5 separate regions of the Homo sapiens genome follow, and all the other regions are linked to region 1. The links are contacts of gene promoters, found by promoter capture Hi-C in blood cells and fetal thymus (Javierre and others, 2016). All regions are on one chromosome and are shown on one strand. Each heading gives the region's core, a stretch centred on a gene start or on the middle of the fragment in contact. The rest is flanking DNA. Distances are from core to core; before and after follow the strand shown. Region 1 holds the start of RTL1 (retrotransposon Gag like 1). Region 2 has its middle 130 kb from the start of LINC00524. Region 3 has its middle 140 kb from the start of LINC02285. Region 4 has its middle 120 kb from the start of LINC02285. Region 5 has its middle 93 kb from the start of LINC02285.

Region 1 (3,391 bases), core at 254-2,753:
GCCCCCTTGCCCCCTCTGCCCTCCGATCTCTGCAGGCTGTGGGCTCCCTCTCTTTTCAGTCCTCTCCTTTCTGTGCTGAATGGCAATACCCCCACCAATGGTGGGAACAGGATTGGGCGCCTCTACACCTGTCCTAACACCTCTGTCTCTGTTCTTTTAGACCTGGGACAGAGCCCTTTGCCCTGCTGTTCTGCTAAAAGCCCAGGGGAGGGCGTGGTGCTCCCCTCCTGGGGCCAGCTGCTCCATGTCTATCTGTTGAGCGGCTTCTCAGCCCTCTTGGGTTTTCTATGGCCCCTTTTCCAGTTGCTAGGGAGAACGCTCTGTATGCAGCCCCCTGCCTTTTCTGCAGGAGCTGCTGGCCTCCCGGCCAGCCCTGGTCAGCCCTGCAGTAGCAGCAGCAGCAGCAGCAGCAGCAGTAGGCAGCCACAGCAGGGCTGGGGGCTCCCGAGCCAGGCAGACCGGCTTGACTCCCTGCTCTCTAGCTGCAAGACAATTCCCTTTACTTTTCAGACTCGGCTTTTCCCCTGTGAAATGGAGATGAGAGTTTCTCCGTCACTGGCGTGAAGTGAGGACTAAATGAGATAAGTGTAGGCTTGCACACATCAGACACTTCATAAATGCTTGTGGAGTAGACGGTGGGACCCAGGGAGGGAGAGAGAGGTATGTAACAAGTGTCGCAAGAGAGAAAACAGCCTGGCCTTTCAAGACCCTGCTCCCAATACAAACGGGAACCTCTCCTGGCAGAGTCCCCTCTGCTGGCTTAATCGCACAAATCAAGTCAGCCGGAGGCAGCCCCCGGCCTGTGGAACTCACAGTAGATGCAGCAGGCAGCATAAATGACATGCAGAGCCCACATCTGCATTTAATAGACCGAGAATTTGCATTGTATATAACAGCACGAGGGGTAAAGCATGAAGGCATAAAGGAACAGTTTTTCCCGGCGGCTTCCTTGAAGGGCCAGCTTAGACAGGGGTCTGGGGAGGAGAAACTCAGCGGGGTCCGGGCATCCCATAGACTATGGGACAGACATCCATCCATGCACTCATTCTCCAAGCCACCACAGTGTACCTACCTTCCCCGGGCCCAGTCCCAAGCGTGAGGCTGGGGATGAAGTGATGCCGGTGGCTTAGTGATGCCGGTGGCTTCCTGTCCTCGAAGCTCAGTCGGTCTGGTGGGGGAAACAAACAGGGAATAAGACACTGGAAATTGAGGTGATCAAGAGGGGGTGCAGGCATGGAGATTTATGGAGCCCCGTCTTGGAGCCAAGTCCCGAACTGGGCTGTCTGCAAAGAACTCACCCGGGCAATAACCCTGCACACTGGTCTCATGAGCCCCATTAGATTGATGAGGAAACTGAGGCACAGAAAGGCAAAGTCCTATACTCACCGTCTCTCAGCTGGTGTGAGGCTGGGCCAGGATGGAACCCCAGACTCTCCGAGGCTCCCCACCACACCCTGCTGCTGAAGGCTGCTCAGCGAGGCTGTGCCGAGTGCTGGGGGGGTGTGGGTGGGCAGGGGACGGATTGATTAGTTATAAGCACCTCCCAGCGGTGCTTGAGATCCCAGCTCCTCTGTGGCCCAATCCGTTTGAAGGGCAGATTCAAAATTAGGTGGTAGCACCTATGGGCAGAGGCTTATGAAAATGGCATTATTAACCTGATGTGGAGAGGGCCCTGCCTGTCTGCAAGTAGATTGCAGATAGAGACGGAGGGGGCTGGGCTTGTTTGTGTGGACAGTGAGTTAGAGAGGACAGAGAACATCCAGGGGCCCTCCAGGGCTTCCGGACGGGGAGAACCAGATCTGGAGGGGCTGGACAAGTGGGAGGGGGAAGAGGGGTACGTCTTAAGGGTGCCCCGGCACCTCAGGGAAATGCCCCAGGCTGGACTTGGAGGAGGATCTCCAGCCTTGACTCTGACACAGACAGGGACTATGGCCCTCCCCGCACCTCGGTTTCCCATCTGTGAGATAAGAGATGGAAACCAAACGTCATTTCGAGAAAAGCCCCCATTCCCACCACCCTCCTGGCCCCCCCCTTCCCCCACCACCCCAATCACGTTTGCCAGACACCTGTCTGCTTGTCAGAGCAATATTCAACAGGAGAGTTCCTTCGCTTCCTCCCTGGAGGGAGAAGGGAGAGGTGTGGACGGGGAGAGGGGAGGGGAGAGGTGCCCCCCACTCAGAGAGGCCGCTGAGCAGAGTTCTGCATCGGGTAGGAGTTGGGCCACCGAAGATTTGTGCCAACTCACGGTGCGGTGGAATCAGACAGTCTGAATTCTTCAGACACCAGCCAAGAGTCTGTGGCGCCCCCACGTGCCACAAGGGGGCTGCCTGGGCCACATTTCTGAGCCCGAAAAGTGAGGAGGGGGACAGTCAAGAGGGACCGGCGCTTTTGCTCTGGCAGCGGCGCTTTTAACTGCGACAGATGCGTGCGGTGCGGCGGGGGAGCCGGCCGTGCCGGGGCTGGGGGCTGCTGGGCGGGGGTGGTCGGGGCGGGGGGCGGGGGCTGCAGGTTGCGCCCCTCCCTCACAGACGGCTGCGCTGCAATGCAGCAGGCTGCGGGAGCTGTCCCGGGAGCTGTCCTGTCCGGTGGCCGGCTTTCCAAAGTGGGGAACGAGAGATGAGGGAGGGAGCACTTCCAGGCGCTGCGTGGTGGCCAGGCGCCCAGGAAGCCGAGGGGCCCGAGACTCTGCAGCGGGGCCAGAAAGAGAAGAGTGGGGGAGGAGGCCGGGAGTGGTGCATGGACCAGGGGGTAGAGGGAGGTGGGTGTGGACCTGGGGTCGGGCGCCAGTCAGCTTGCAGCCTATGAAGGACGGAAAGGAGGGCTACAGAGATAGGGGAAGAGTGGGGCTGAGGATAGCCAGAGCGGCTTGGCACACAGTTTTAGGGTAAAAGCATCAACTCTTATCTTTCCAAAAGAAATAAAAAAGCCAAAAAAAAAAAAAAAGGCATTTGAAAGCTAGACAGCTGAATCCTTCCCAGCATGACTGAGCCGGTCACTCCAGGGTCTTCCTTCAAAGCGTGTCTAATGGGAGACAGCGTTGTCCCAGTAACCAAATTGGGACCAGAGTCCCAGGGAAGGGCTCATCAGGTGGCCGCTCTGCCTTGAAGAGTGGTACCCTCAGGCCCTTTTCCAGCCAGGGGTCAGGGAGAGAGCTGGAGGGCTCGGGGAGGCAGGGACTGGGAGGGAGAGTGGGGAGAGGAGCGCTGGGGGCTGCAGGAGGGTCTCTGGGCAGCTGGCGGGTGTCTCGTTCCGCAACACTCTGCACCCTGGTACATCGTCCTCCGTCCACTCAACGTGGAATGATTCTCTTCCCTCTGGATCCAGCCCCTCTAGTTCCCTTTTCACTTTGAGGCATTTGCCCCCTGTGAATCAGTTCCCTGCTACTCCAGAA
Region 2 (3,391 bases), core at 367-2,866, 370 kb after region 1:
TATAAAATGTCCCTTTTCATCTCTGTTAGAAACCATTTACATCTAACGTAACTACTAATATAGTTGGGTTTAAATAAATCATCATGCTATTTGTTTTCAATTTTCCCTTTTTGTTCTTTTTACTTTGTTCCTCCTTTCCTGCCAAATCAAGTCATCATTTTAGCAACTGATGAATCGCCTCTTTTGGATATTTAGGCATATCTCTTTGCATGATTCTTAATATTTTAATCATTATTCTTTTAGTGGTTACTTTAAGGATTACAACATGCATCAAGTTGTCACATTTACCTTGAATTAATATTATACCACTTGATATAGAAGAATCTTACGATAGTATATTTTAACTTAATGCTCTCCCATCCCCTTTGCAATTGTTGTATATATTTTATTTCTACATGTAATAAACTCCACATTACATTGTTATATAAACAACCACTTACTTTAAAGAAATTAAGGAAAAAATAGTCTATTTACTATATACTCACCATTTCAGTGCTCTTCATTTCCTCTTCTACAGGTGTGTTTCTTTCCTTTTCTTTCCTTTTCTTTCCTTTTCTTTTCTTTTCTTTTCTTAGAGACAGAATCTGGCTCTGTCGCACAGGCTGGAGTGCAATGGCACAATCTTGGCTCACTGCAACCTCTACCTCCCAGGTTCAAGCGATTCTCCAGCCTCAGCCTCCCAAGTAGCCAGGACTACAGGCACCCGCCACCACGCCTGGCTAATTTTTGTATTATCAGTAGAGATGGGGTTTCACCATGTTGGCCAGGCTGGTATTGAACTCCTGACCTCAAGTGATTCACCCGCCTCAGCCTCCCAAAGTGTTGGGATTTTAGTCATGAGCCACTGCGCCCAGCCTACAGGTGTGTTTCTATCAAGTCTTACACACCTTCATCCTAAAGAACTTTCTTTAGCATTCCTTATAATGCATATCTGCTGCCAGTTCTTTCACTTCAATTTAATGACAGTGTGTTATTTTATCTTCATCTTTAAAGGATATTCTATGTTGAATGTTTCTTTCTTTCCGTATTTTACAGATACTTTTTTGTTGCCTTCTGGCTTACCTTGTTTCTTATGAGGAGAACAGCATCATTGTAGCATTGTTTCCCTATATTTCACGTGTCTTTGTTTTTTCCTTTTTATCTTTAAGCTTCAGCAGCTGAAAGTCAAAGAGTAAACTTGTGCCACACTCCAATATGCTTACTTGTGGTTTTCTTTGTGTTTATCCTGCTTGAGTTTCTCAGAGGATTTTAGATCAGTGGCTGGATGTTTTTAATAAAATTTGGGAAAGTTTTGGCAACTATTTCTTCAATTTTTTTTCTTGCTTCTTCTCTCTTACGTACTTCTGAGCTTCTGATTCCACATATAATAGACTGTTTAATAGTGTTCCATTGGTCACTGAGGCTCTCTCTATTCCTTGTTTTTGCCTTTTAAAATTCTCTCTGTGCTTTGGTTTAGGAAATTCTTTTGACATTTCTTCATTTTTGCTGATCATTTTCTCTCCACAATATATCCAATATCAAGTTAATCCTATCCAATAAATACTTGACTTCAGATAGTGATGTACATTAATTCTTTATTTATGATTTCTATATCTCTCTTAAAATTCCTCATCTCTTCACCTATTACAGACAGTCCCCAACTTACAATGATTCAACTTATGGGTTTGTTTTTGTTTTTGTTTTACTTTATGATGGGTTTGGTTTATAAGAGTATTAAGTGCATTTTTGACTTATAGTATTTTTAACTCACTGAGTTTGTGACATAACCTCACTATAAGTTTAATAAAGCATTTGTATATTCATCTTTACCTGTGAATTACTTACATGTTATAATAGGTATTTTAAGGTGATCGCTCTCTAATTCTAAGATCTGGATTGTTAATGCAGCCTACTTTTATTAAGAACAAACTATTTTTTTCTCTTGATAGGTCAAACGTTTCTACTTTTTGCATGCCTACTAATTTTTTATTGTATGCTGAACATCATGAATGATACATTTCAGACCTTTTGATTCTGTGTCTTCCTGTGAAGAATGTTGATATAAGTAACTTGTGGATCACCTGACTCCTGCAGAGACGTGGTTTTAAGCTTTGTCAGGGCAGGTCCATTTATATTCATGCCTTAGTCCTGGAATGTAGCCATTGATTCTGGGATGTGGCCCTTGTGGGTTTCTCATGGAATTCCAAAATGCTTATAAAGAAACAAAGATAAACTCTGAAAAGCAGAAAATAAAGAACAACTGATCATGTACAGGGAGAAGTGATTAATGGCTGACTTCTTATCAGAATTAATGATAACAAGAAGACAGTCAAATGCCATTCAATGTGCAAAAGAAAAAAACTCAACCAAAAATTCTATAGCTAGTAAATCCTTCAAAATTGAATGAGCAATAAAAACATTCTCAGACAAACAAAAAGAATGAGTTTCTAGAAGGTCTGCTCTATAAGAATGAGTAAAGGAAGTGCCTCAGGCTAACAGGAAATGTATCTACAGGAAGAAAGGAAGAACGCTGGAAATGGTAAATATGTGGATACTATGAAAGACTGAGTACACACATACACAAAAGTAAACACATGCTTAATGTTTTTTAAACACCAGCAAGACTGTCTAAGGCAAAAATTATAACACTGTATCATTTGATTTATTAAATACAGTAGACGGCTTCTACTTCTGGAAGATGGAGTAGATACTTTTTCTATTCACGCTTGCTAAGTACAGCTAAATGCCTTGGACGTTATATATAAAACAAACATAAGAAATACAAAAAAGTGAAAAGAAGAAAGAAAGCTGGCTAGGGACCTCAGGATCTCAAGAACACCATGGAATTGGCGTGTACAGCTAAATGCCTTGGACGTTATATATAAAACAAACATAAGAAATACAAAAAAGTGAAAAGAAGAAAGAAAGCTGGCTAGGGACCTCAGGATCTCAAGAACATCATGGAATTGAGTTCCCTGGGTTTTCTTTTTGCCTTAAATATCCCAGACTTGGTGTTAAATAATCTGGGAACATGGAAATGCCAATGTGTGCAGACCAAAACAGCCCCAACAAAAGCCTGTTCTCTCTTGGTAAAGGATGAGTAAATGGGCAAGCTAGTAATATAGAAAATTTTTAGACAAGAACCTCTCCACACCTGTCAAATACCACACAAACAGCTGCAGCCCTAACTCCACCCTTGCCCTTTAAAACTGCAGGGGGAGCGTAGCTCTCTAGCCCTGTGGGGTTGTAAGAAGGCACATCAGCCCCTCCACTGGGGTAGCGTCAAAGAAGGCTGAATGAGGAGTAAGGACTTTCATCCATGCCAGGGGACACTACACCCCACAGAGTCAGGGGAGACCACGTGGAGAGCCTGGATTTCCATTATCACTCATCGCTAATGAGTGACCCCTCC
Region 3 (3,391 bases), core at 483-2,982, 350 kb after region 1:
ACCACCTCTGTTGCTTTCTCACTCACCCCACAATCCATATTAGTGGCCCTGTTGTCCCTGCTCTGGATATGGGTGGTCCTCACAGTCCTCATCCCCACACTGCTGGCCTTGAGGCCGTGGAGAAGCACCCACTGGCTCTGGAAGCCGCTCCCTGAAAGTGAAACACAATGTACCCACCCACACGTCGTTGGCCGAGCCAAGTCCTGTGGCCAGCCTTGACGTCAACAGCATGGAGAATGTAATCTTCCTGCAGAGAGGAACAGCAGATAGTTGGAACAATATAACCACCTGCCACAGGCTGGAAGCTTGCCTCCCCCACCTTCCTCTCGCCCCCCAGGGAAGGTCCTTTCCGTAGAGTCCTCTGGGAGGGAACTGCACCCAGCCTGCTAGTTCCAGCATGGAGGAATGCCCACGGGGACACAGCTGAGGGTTAGGGACGCAGAGGTGGCTTTCTCAGAGCAGTCGCCCAGACCTCTGGAAGGAGCAGCGTCCGTGGAGACCAACCATCACATATCCTTTATTTATATATGTTTGAGATGTGCACTTAAGTTCAGACAGCTGAATTCACCCTACTCCTTACTCTATGGCACAACATTACCAATTGCCTATCATATTTTATGTCACCAATTCTCACCTTCTGTTCCCCATCCTCATCCCCACCATACTCGTGGGAAGGTTTCATATATGTTCTTGAATGGGTGTTTAACTTTGAAACACATGTAGCTTGTTTTTGTGTGTAAGTACTGCTTCCAATGTGAGTATGTTTTGTTGTGCCATCGAGCTCCTGCTTCTCACTTTTTTCATTCAACAATATGCCTTAAAAATCTGTCTGTGCTGCTTGTGGCTGTGTAGACTTCTAGTTCAGGGATTTTGACAATTTCACGGAATTCTGCACTGTGCATCTTCATTGTACTTACCCATGCCCCGGGGGTGGACACTTAAGTTGTCATCTCTGCAAAAGGAGCTGGGACAATGATGCCTTTGGTGTCCCCTGGCCCCTGGATCCGTGCTTGAGTTTCTCAGGGGCATGTTTTAAGGAGGGGGATTGTTGAGTCAAGAGCCACACAAAGTAACGTGTTAAGTGCAGCCAGATCACTATCAGCTGCTCCCAGCAACAATGAGTTAGGCTCCTGTTTCCTCACAGCTCGGTCAACATTAGTGTTACCCAACAATGTTTTGTTTTTTGCAAAATTGGTATCTTATTATTTTTGCATCTCCCTCCCAAATTGCTATTGAAATTGAGTATCACTTCACGTACTTGTTAGCTTTTCAGATTTCCCTTCTCCGAATTGCCCACTGTTTTCTGCAGGTCTCCCATCTCTTCCTCATTGATTTCTGACAGTCCCTTGTATGTTCTAGATAGTAATCCTTTATCAATGCCAGCGTTGTAAATAGCATATTACAGTCCGTAGCCCTCCATTAACTTTGAGTCTATTTTCTGCGGATGAAATATTTAATTCTGACTTAGTCAACCCCATTAGCATTTTATTCTATAGGCTGTGCTTTGTCAAAGACCCTATTTAAGAAGCCTCGCCTCCACCTGAAAATCACAGGGTATTCTGCACACTTCTAATTAATATTATAGTTTTATCCTCACACATAGTATTTTAATCCATTTATATTTAACCCATCCAGACTCTCTATGTGTGTGGTATGAGGTGTTAGGAAATCAATCTAATTCTCTCTCTGTACAGTGAGTCAGTTTTCCCTACATAGACAATAAAATAATGTATCCCCTCCCCTCTGGCTGGTGACTCCACCTCTATCACACACTATGTTTCCTGTGTGAAGGATACGGCTTTAAGCCCTCGATTCTGTTTTCATTACTATGATGTGGTAAGTGGAATTCTAAGATGCCCCCTAGAATGCATATGATCTCTTCTCCTTGAGCGCAAGGGCCCCCTGTGACCTCTGGAGGGGTATCCTCCTTTGATTAGGTGACTAATCGGGTGACTTGGAGTTAATAAAAAAAGGAGACAATCCCTGGAGCCTGCATCAGGTGAGCCCTGGGCCCTCCCTGAAAGACATTTGAGGTGTGAGAGGGCTCAGATGAGAGGAAGCATCCCCATGTTTGGCTTTTGGGTTTTGAAGATGAAGGGGCCACCTGGCAGGAATGCAGGCGACCTCCAGGAGCTGAGGGTCAGCAAGGAATGAGGGCCTCATCCCTACAGCCACAAGGAGCTCAATCCAGCCAGCATATGAATGGGCTGGGAAACGTGTTCTTCCCTGGGGCCATCACATAGGGTACAATAAATCCCTGGGGTCCTGAACCACCTAGGATGGAGGTGGCCAACACCTGCCGTATGAGGCATCCCTGGCCCTGCCTGACCGCAGAGAGCCAGCCGAGCTAGGCACTGGCTTTGCAAGACGTCTCCAGATCATGCAGGGTAAGTCCACTCCTCACCCCCAAAACATGTGCTCTTCTTTGTCAAAATAGACTTAGCAATTTGTGGACATTATGGCTTATATATATTTTAGAATGAGTTTGTCAAGTCCCTCAAAAAAATCCAGCTGGTATTTTGAACAAAATTACATGAAATTTATAGATTAATGTGGGAAGATTTGACATTTTTACAACTTAAAGCATCCATAAAAATGGTCTATCTCTCCATTTGTTCATGTTTTCTTTTATGTCCTTTTGATGTTTTCAATTTCATCTCTCCATTTTTATGTCTTCTTTTATGTCCTTTACGTTTTTTTAAAATTTTAATTTTTTTTTCCTCTATAAAGGTTTTCTGCATTTATTTCTGGCTTAATTTCTAGATACTTCATCATTTGGGTTCCTCTTGTGAATGTATCTCTTTTTCTATTATATTTCTAATTGGTTAATGCTGGTGTAGGGAAAGCCACTAATTTTAGTAAGTTGATCTTGTATTCAGCAATCTTGCTAAACTCTATTATTAGTTCCAATCAATTTTCTGTTCATTCTGTTGGGTTTCTATGTAGATGATATATAATCTGCGTGTGATGACAGCTGCGTCTCTTCCCTCCCTCTTCTCTTCCTATCTTTTCATTTTCTCATCTTATGGCACTAGCCAGAGCCTCTCGTGTTAGGTTGAATAGCTGCGGTGCTTCCGCTTGTCCTGTTTCCAACATTAAAGAGAATGAATTAAAGTTCATCTGCAGAGTAGTAGGTTTTCTACAAAGTTTTTAATATGCAAAGCTTTATTGCATTAAGGATATTCAGTTCCATTCAGAGTTTTCTGAGAAATTTAAAAAATCAGAAAGAGACGTTGAACTTCATCAAATCCTTTTCGGCATCTGTCAAGAGTTACTTTGCTCTGTTAGTCCGATAATATGGTAGATAAATTCATAGAATTTCTAATGTCAAATTGTTCTTACCCTCCTAGAATAAATCCAACTAGATTATTTTTAAACTACACAGTAGGGT
Region 4 (3,391 bases), core at 653-3,152, 330 kb after region 1:
GGACCCTCGCAATCAGACATCTCATGAGTTTTGGACTTTAAGACCTGATCAGCAGGGTCTGGGAGCTGCCCTGAATGTACCCTCAGAACCCCCTACAGAGGGGATCCTCAAAGCTTCTGCAGGATTGAGCTGCGTGTCCTGCTGCTGGAGCCAGCCACCCGGGCTTTCCCGTTCTTGGGAGGAAAGGAAAGAGAAGAACGAGTCCTTTCTGGGCCAATGAGGACTCAGGCCAGGAAAGCGAGGGGCTGGGCCAATACCCATCCCCCTGTCCCTGCCAGACGCATTTTCAAGAGTCTCTATTTTGGTCAAGAGAGTGGGCCTGGGAGAGAAAAGTGCTTGTGAGCGGAAGTTACAGAGGTCCTCTCAGGGCCATGGTGATGGGTGGGGGGCCCTCAGGAGGTCGGGCAGGGCTGTCCTCCCACCACAGAATCCCCCCAAACGGCAGCCTCATAGCATTGTCAGAACTCGTCTTCCTTACACAATTTCCGGATGAAATATCTGAAAAAAAAGAAAAACAATGCCCAGTTACGTTGGAATGTCTGACAAAGATGCAACATTTGAGATACGCTTATATGAAGACGTTATTTATTGTTGGTCTGAAATTCCAATGTAACAGAGTGTTCTGTGTTTTTATTTGCTGAGCCTGACAACAACAGCACTGTCTCTCCTCCAGGTTCCCGGTGGATTTTCTCTTTCCCAGGCACAGGGCTGTGCCTTGCTCCCCTGAGGGACGCCCATCTCAGGTGATGGGGTCTGTCCATCTCGGGCTGCCTCTGCCAGCTCCCCACTTCAGATGGACTCTAGCAGCTGGGCTTGCACAGCCCACTGCCCGGGGTCCCGCAGATGAAAACACCCCACTGGGGTTGTTAACTCAAAAGAATGTGCCTATCGGCTCAAAGTTCAGCTGCAGTCGCATTCATGGCCTCCGTCTACTGGACGGCCTCCCAGGGTCCTGGCACACATGCCAGGCCCACCTTCCCTCATTCAGGTGCCTCTGAGGGCCCGTTACCAGCAGGGCAGGAGGAAGTTGTGGAGTGTGCCAGATCCTTGCCTGCCTCCATCGCTGATGGTGGACCTTATCTTCTGCCTTTGTCCTCAGGCCCTCCCAGGGTGCATCCCAAAGGCATTGGTCTCAGCCCAGGCAGGTAAGCAGTGGATGTGTGACCTGTCACTGAATTCTGCAGCTCCTTCCCACTGCTGGTGGTAGGTGAGTGCCAGGCCCTGAGGACTTGATGCTGGTCTTGGGGGCTGCGGACTCAGCATGGGGTCCCCAAGAAGGGGTCCGAGTCCCCCTGTGATGGGCAGAGTCCATCCTTCTTAGAGTCTGAATTAAAACAGCCTCTCTGTTGTACAGAAACACTCGCTGCGGGGTTGGCTGAGCAGAACCTTTGCGTGGTCTCCCTCCCACCCACTCTGGCCCAGTGTGTCCTGCTCCCAAGACCTCATGGGTGCTGTGGCCTGCTCCAGATGCCCTCTCCACCGGCCAGCCCCATCCATGCCCATGGGCACACAGTGCCTAGTCTCACAAAGCAGCTGTCAGGTAAGGGGACTCCGCCTCCCCTGGCCTCCTTCCCAGGTGGTATCTGGAGGAGACACAAGTCCTAACTTCCACACTCCTCGGTTTCTTTTTAGGCAAACTTGGCTGATTTCAGAGCACTGGCCACCCCTGCCTGGACCCCTCAGCTCCGTGTCCCCAGGTCTCTGCCAGGCAGGAACACATGTCCAACGCCGCCGCCGCCTCCTGCAAGTGCTAAGGCCCCAGCCTGGACACTCAGCGCCCATCCTCCACAGGACAAAGCTCCAGCTTCCTGCAGGGCCCTCCTCTGCCTCCACATTTTTTTTTTTCCAGGCTGGAGTGCAGTGGCGCGATCTTGGCTCAATGCAAGCTCTGCCTCCCGGGTTCACACCATTCTCCTGCCTCAGCCTCCCAAGTAGCTGGGACTACAGGCACCAGCCACCACGCCCAGCTAATATTTTGTCTTTTTTTTTAGTAGAGACGGAGTTTCACCATGTTAGCCAGGGTGGTCTCGATCTCCTGACCTCGTGATCCGCCCTCCTCGGCCTCCCAAAGTGCTGGGATTACATGTCTCCACATTTTTTTTCACTGAGAAAGTCTGTTTTGAAATCTTTAAAACTAATGAATAAATTAATGATATGTTCCAGCTTCCAAAAGGACCAAGTTTCTAAATGGAGAAAATGGTGCCTTTGCAGCAAGAGCCAACCCCAAGGACCAAGTGCCCTAAAATGAATCTGCTGATGTTCAAAGGGCAGAAATGGGCTGGTCCTAAGGACCAGGCCACCCAGTGAAAGTGGGTCTCCAAGCGTGCCTCCTGCCACCCCGGTCTCAGAGGAGGCTGGCCACTCCTTCAAGGTGACCGTTCCTCAGAGGGTCTTGGTGCTCTCATCTGTAGAAAGAAACTGTCTCCAGCCCTCAGAAGTACTGTGAGGCAATGGGATGGGGGAGGCTACCAGGAGTCACTCAATTATCAAGCAAATGGGGTGGTCCCTGAAGAGGCAGAGAACTCCAGGTAGAGCCCAGAAGTCCCAGAAGAAGTCCAGGCACTTGCTGTGTGCTGATCAGGTGGGTGAGAGATGGGTCTCACGCTGGGCTCTGACCTTTCTTCTTCCCAAACCACCCACGAGCTGTTGGAAGTTGGGGCTGTGTCTCTGTCATGCCTGTACTCCTCTGGTGCCTACTGGGTGCCCAGTGAGTGATCAATGGATGCAAGAAGCAGCAAATACTGTTGGCTGCATCTGATATGTGGTTATCAAATATAAGGTTTCAAATGAACCTTTTAGGCCTAAGAGTCTTTTCTCAACAAATGATTCTTGAGGAGCTATTTTCACATTGTTCAAAAGGTTTATGTCTGCTCACCACTCAACAGGCAACGTCTGACATTTTAACTAACTGCTTCTTGTGGACTCATCCCTGGTGAGCACCCAGGTACCTACCACATAAACAGCTTGCAAGAGGTACTTGATGAATGAATGAATCCATCAATAAACAAAGGGGCTACATTGTAACAGGTGGCCTGCCAGTATGTCTCTTTCCTTAGACTGTGAGTTCCAGGAGGGCAGGAAGATTTTCGCATTTATTTTTTATTCCCTGGAGCAGGCAGGAAGGTCCCCGCATATTTCTTGAATGAACAAAGGGATGAATGAAGACACACTCGTACAAATAGATGCATTGCATCCTTCCTGTGGATCAAACCACCATGATCTCAACAAGCAGCACCTACGAAGCTCCTCTGACGATGAGAGCGGGACAGCTCCATCCTGTTGGCTGTACCAGGAAGCCCAGCCTGCTGCAGACTCATCCCATCACATACCTGTGTTTCTCAGAAACTTATCAGGAAGAAGGCAGTGTCTGTGACCTCAGCCCTTCTGCCAG
Region 5 (3,391 bases), core at 571-3,070, 310 kb after region 1:
CCATAAGTTTGCCTCTAAGCATTGCTTTAACTGCATCCCGTGAGTCGGAGTGCCTCAACACACACGCACACACACACACACACACACACACAGAGAGACACATACACACATACACACAGCACACACACAGAGAGAGAGAGAGAGCTCCTTGGCAAAGACTGAGAGAGCACATTCTAGCATTAAAATGTCCAGCCAGGCAGTTCTGCCTTAGCCTTTCCTTTTTTGTTTGTTTGTTTTTAGAGGGACTTTCGCTCTGTTGCCCTGGCTGGAGTACATTGGCGTGATCTCGGCTCACTGCAACGTCCGCCTCCCGGGTTCAAGCAATTCTCCTGCCTCAGCCTCCCGAGTAGCTGGGATTACAGGTGCCTGCCACCAGGCCCAGACAATTTTTGTATTTTCAGTAGAGACGGGGTTTCACCATGTTGGCCAAGCTGGTCTCAAATTGTTGACCTCAGGTGATCCCCGGCCTTGGCCTCTCAAAGTGCTGAGCCTTTACTTCTTACTTCTGTAGAGCCTCAAGACCAGCCAGAGGTAGAGGTGAGAGCTCAGGCCTTTCCTGAACATGCACATGGCCTTCTGGATTCCTGGAAAGATGTTGGTTCGCAGCTCCTGTAGACGTGTCATTCCCCAGCTTTGTAATTTGAAGCTTGTTGGCTACCCTATTGTTTCGCAAACTCTTACCCACTGCTTTGGTTACCATGAAGCTAAACATTTGCCTATAAATGTTTCCAATAAATGCCCCACTGAAAATGCTTTTTGTACCAGGAGAACTCCAAGTCAGGTCAAATAAAGACAACCTTGCAAGTGGGTTTAGTGAACCATCAGACTTCAAGTAATGACAATTCTGTTAATGAGGCTTTGAAGTTGCTTCTAGCCATTTTTCCTTTCTGGCGGCTGCCAAGCTATTAGTCTTCACCCTGATAGTGGGTTATTGGTTTTCAAGTCTACCACAGGGCTGGGGAGTGTGGCATGGGGATAGAGTAAGTTAAAGTGCTGCAAGGCTTGTTCTTTGTAAGATTCTGCCGGTTTGCTTGAATAAATCCTCCTAGAATTGTTGCAGGCCTATGGTCAATTTCCAGAACTTTGAAATCGTTGATGCTGCCAATTTTTGCCGGTATTCTCATTGTTTTCAAGGAGACACTTTTTGGAGGTCCTGACTCTGCCGTTTTCACTGACTTTACCCTGTCCCTTACTATATTCCTAGGAGGAGCCCTGGGGAGGCCTGAGGCAGAAACCCATGGATGGCCTGAGGCAACTTTCTGGATTCCTCTTGGCCTCTTTTTCCATAGCTGTAAAAAGAGATGTTCAGCAAAGATGATCCCAGAGGGCTTTCTTGCCTCAAATATCCTTCTCTGTGCCTTGTCTGAGGCATCTTGAATACATAGTGTGAATCTTTTTATTCTCAGCATCCCCCAAAGCAGCAGCTTTCCAGCTTCTCTAGAACCCACTTAGAAATAAGGACCTGGCCCATGCGTCTAAGCAGACACATTGATTCTCTTGCATTACATATGCAACAAAAATTTCATCAGGCTACTGCTCCTGCTATAGGTACTATAACAGCAGCTACGGCTTTAGGAACACATTCTGATTTTTCTATTCTTATTTCTTTAAACAACACGTTGGTCATGGGCCACAAAAATGACTCCCTGGACTCCCTAATGTTTTATCATCCACAAGTTGAAAATCCCAGGCCTAGAGGTACCCAGTTCACATGCTGGCTGACCCTGAGCTGAGGGGGAGGATGAGTGCCCTAAAGGTGAGCAGGTAGGCACAAGTAAGCCTGAATTCAAGCTGTGGCTTGAAAGGTTGGTCCTTGGGACAGTGTTGATTTGGGGGGTCCAGAGGGAGTTGAAGGTTGAGGCATCAGAGCACTTGCCCTCCTGGTGTTCCTGGAGCTCTGGGCGGGTAAATCTTACATGGGAACTGCCTCACCCCTTGACCCCTGTATTAGGTAATTTATAAACAAATTTATAATTTTTTCTATGTTTGTAGAATTGCTTTGCTTAATTTCTCTGGCTAAAACCTAGGTAATTTTTAAAGAAAAAGAAGTTGAATGGACCCACAGTTCCACGCGGCTAGGGAAGCCTCACAATCATGGTGGAAGATGAAAGATATGTCTTACAGGGCGGCAGGCAAGAGAGAAAAAGAACCAACCAAAAGGGGAAACCCCTTATAAAACCATCAGATCTCATGAGACTTATTCACCACCACGAGAACAGTATAGGGGAAACCACCCCCATGATTCAATTATCTGCTACTGGGTCCCTCCCACAACATGTGGGAATTATGGGAGCTATACTGCAAGATGAGATTTGGGTGGGGACACAGCCAAACCGTATTACCCCCACTGCTATGGACTGTGTCAGGCCATCCCCAAATTTATATGTTGAAATTCTAACCCCCAATATGAAAGTATGTGGAGATGGGCCGGGCACGGTGGCTCAAGCCTGTAATCCCAGCACTTTGGGAGGCCGAGGCAGGTGGATCACAAGGTCAGGAGATCGAGACCATCCTGGCTAACACGGTGAAACCCTGTCTATACCAAAAATACAAAAAATAAAAATAAAAAATTAGCTGGGCGCGGTGGCAGGCACCTATAGTCCCAGCTACTCAGGAGGCTGAGGCAGGAGAATGGCATGAACCCGGGAGGCAGAACTTGCAGTGAGCCGAGATTGTGCCACTGCACTCCAGACTGGGCAACAGAGCAAGACTCCATCTCCAAAAATAAAAATAAAAATAAAATAAAAAAAGAAAGTATGTGGAGATGGGGCCTTTGGGAGGTAATTAGGTCATTGAGGGTGGAGGCCTTATGATGGGATTAGTGCCCTTATAAGAAGAGCTATGACCTCTCTCTCTCTCTCTTTCTCTCTCTGTCTCTCTCTCTCTCTCTCTCTCTCTCCACCATGTGAGAACACAGCAAGAAGATGGTCGTCTGCAACCCAGTAATAGAGCCCTCACCAGGAACTGAATCACTGGCACCTTGATCTTGGGTTTTCAAGCTTCCAGAACTGTGAGAAATCAACTTCCACTGTTTAAGTTGCCCAGTCTCAGGTGTTCTGTTACAGCAGCTCAAGTTGACTCATACACCCACGTAATATGAAGTCTCCAGACACTCCACGGAGACATCTGGGCCTGGACACTGAAGAGTTCTTTGAATCACTCAGCAAAGCCACCGCAACGTGCCAAGCCACTGGGGGATACATGATGAAGACCCCTTTCCTGCCGCTAAGATAGGTGTGCATGAAGACACCTCTTTCCACTTTCTAAAGCTCTTGCATGTTGTATCACATGAGTATCAAGTGTCAAGACACCTGTAAGGCAGGATGTTGGGGGGTGAGGGGGTTATTCTGGAAGGACCTGGTCCTCCCTATCCCTCCCTGAGCAAAGCTGG

What was found. Contacts are between HindIII fragments. The CHiCAGO score rates a contact against its expected background, and 5 or more counts as called.
Region 2: a contact is called between a fragment that was not itself captured here and the fragment with the promoter of RTL1 in region 1, in 1 of 17 cell types (endothelial precursors). The highest score is 6.0, in endothelial precursors.
Region 3: a fragment that was not itself captured here is called in contact with the fragment with the promoter of RTL1 in region 1 in 2 of 17 cell types (M1 macrophages and M2 macrophages); the score reaches 5.3 in M1 macrophages.
Region 4: a contact is called between a fragment that was not itself captured here and the fragment with the promoter of RTL1 in region 1, in 7 of 17 cell types (M2 macrophages, megakaryocytes, M1 macrophages and 4 more). The highest score is 15.8, in M2 macrophages.
Region 5: a fragment that was not itself captured here is called in contact with the fragment with the promoter of RTL1 in region 1 in 4 of 17 cell types (endothelial precursors, M1 macrophages, M0 macrophages and 1 more); the score reaches 6.5 in endothelial precursors.

Annotation. Positions count from the first base shown.
Region 1 is chr14:100,902,219-100,905,609 of GRCh38, forward strand. RTL1 (retrotransposon Gag like 1) reads right to left here and starts at 1,504. Exons shown (of 4, transcript NM_001134888.3): 1 at 1,387-1,504; 2 at 1,073-1,168. All of the region lies in intron 5 of MEG8 (maternally expressed 8, small nucleolar RNA host gene), which reads left to right. The HindIII fragment of the contact is 7,837 bases long and covers 1-3,391 here.
Region 2 is chr14:101,274,401-101,277,791 of GRCh38, forward strand. No RefSeq gene overlaps it. Among named protein-coding and RNA genes, the nearest start is that of LINC00524, 130 kb to the right of the region's middle. The HindIII fragment of the contact is 940 bases long and covers 1,147-2,086 here.
Region 3 is chr14:101,255,445-101,258,835 of GRCh38, forward strand. No RefSeq gene overlaps it. Among named protein-coding and RNA genes, the nearest start is that of LINC02285, 140 kb to the left of the region's middle. The HindIII fragment of the contact is 2,858 bases long and covers 304-3,161 here.
Region 4 is chr14:101,235,813-101,239,203 of GRCh38, forward strand. No RefSeq gene overlaps it. Among named protein-coding and RNA genes, the nearest start is that of LINC02285, 120 kb to the left of the region's middle. RefSeq lists an enhancer at 214-837. The HindIII fragment of the contact is 3,583 bases long and covers 112-3,391 here.
Region 5 is chr14:101,212,299-101,215,689 of GRCh38, forward strand. No RefSeq gene overlaps it. Among named protein-coding and RNA genes, the nearest start is that of LINC02285, 93 kb to the left of the region's middle. The HindIII fragment of the contact is 2,353 bases long and covers 645-2,997 here.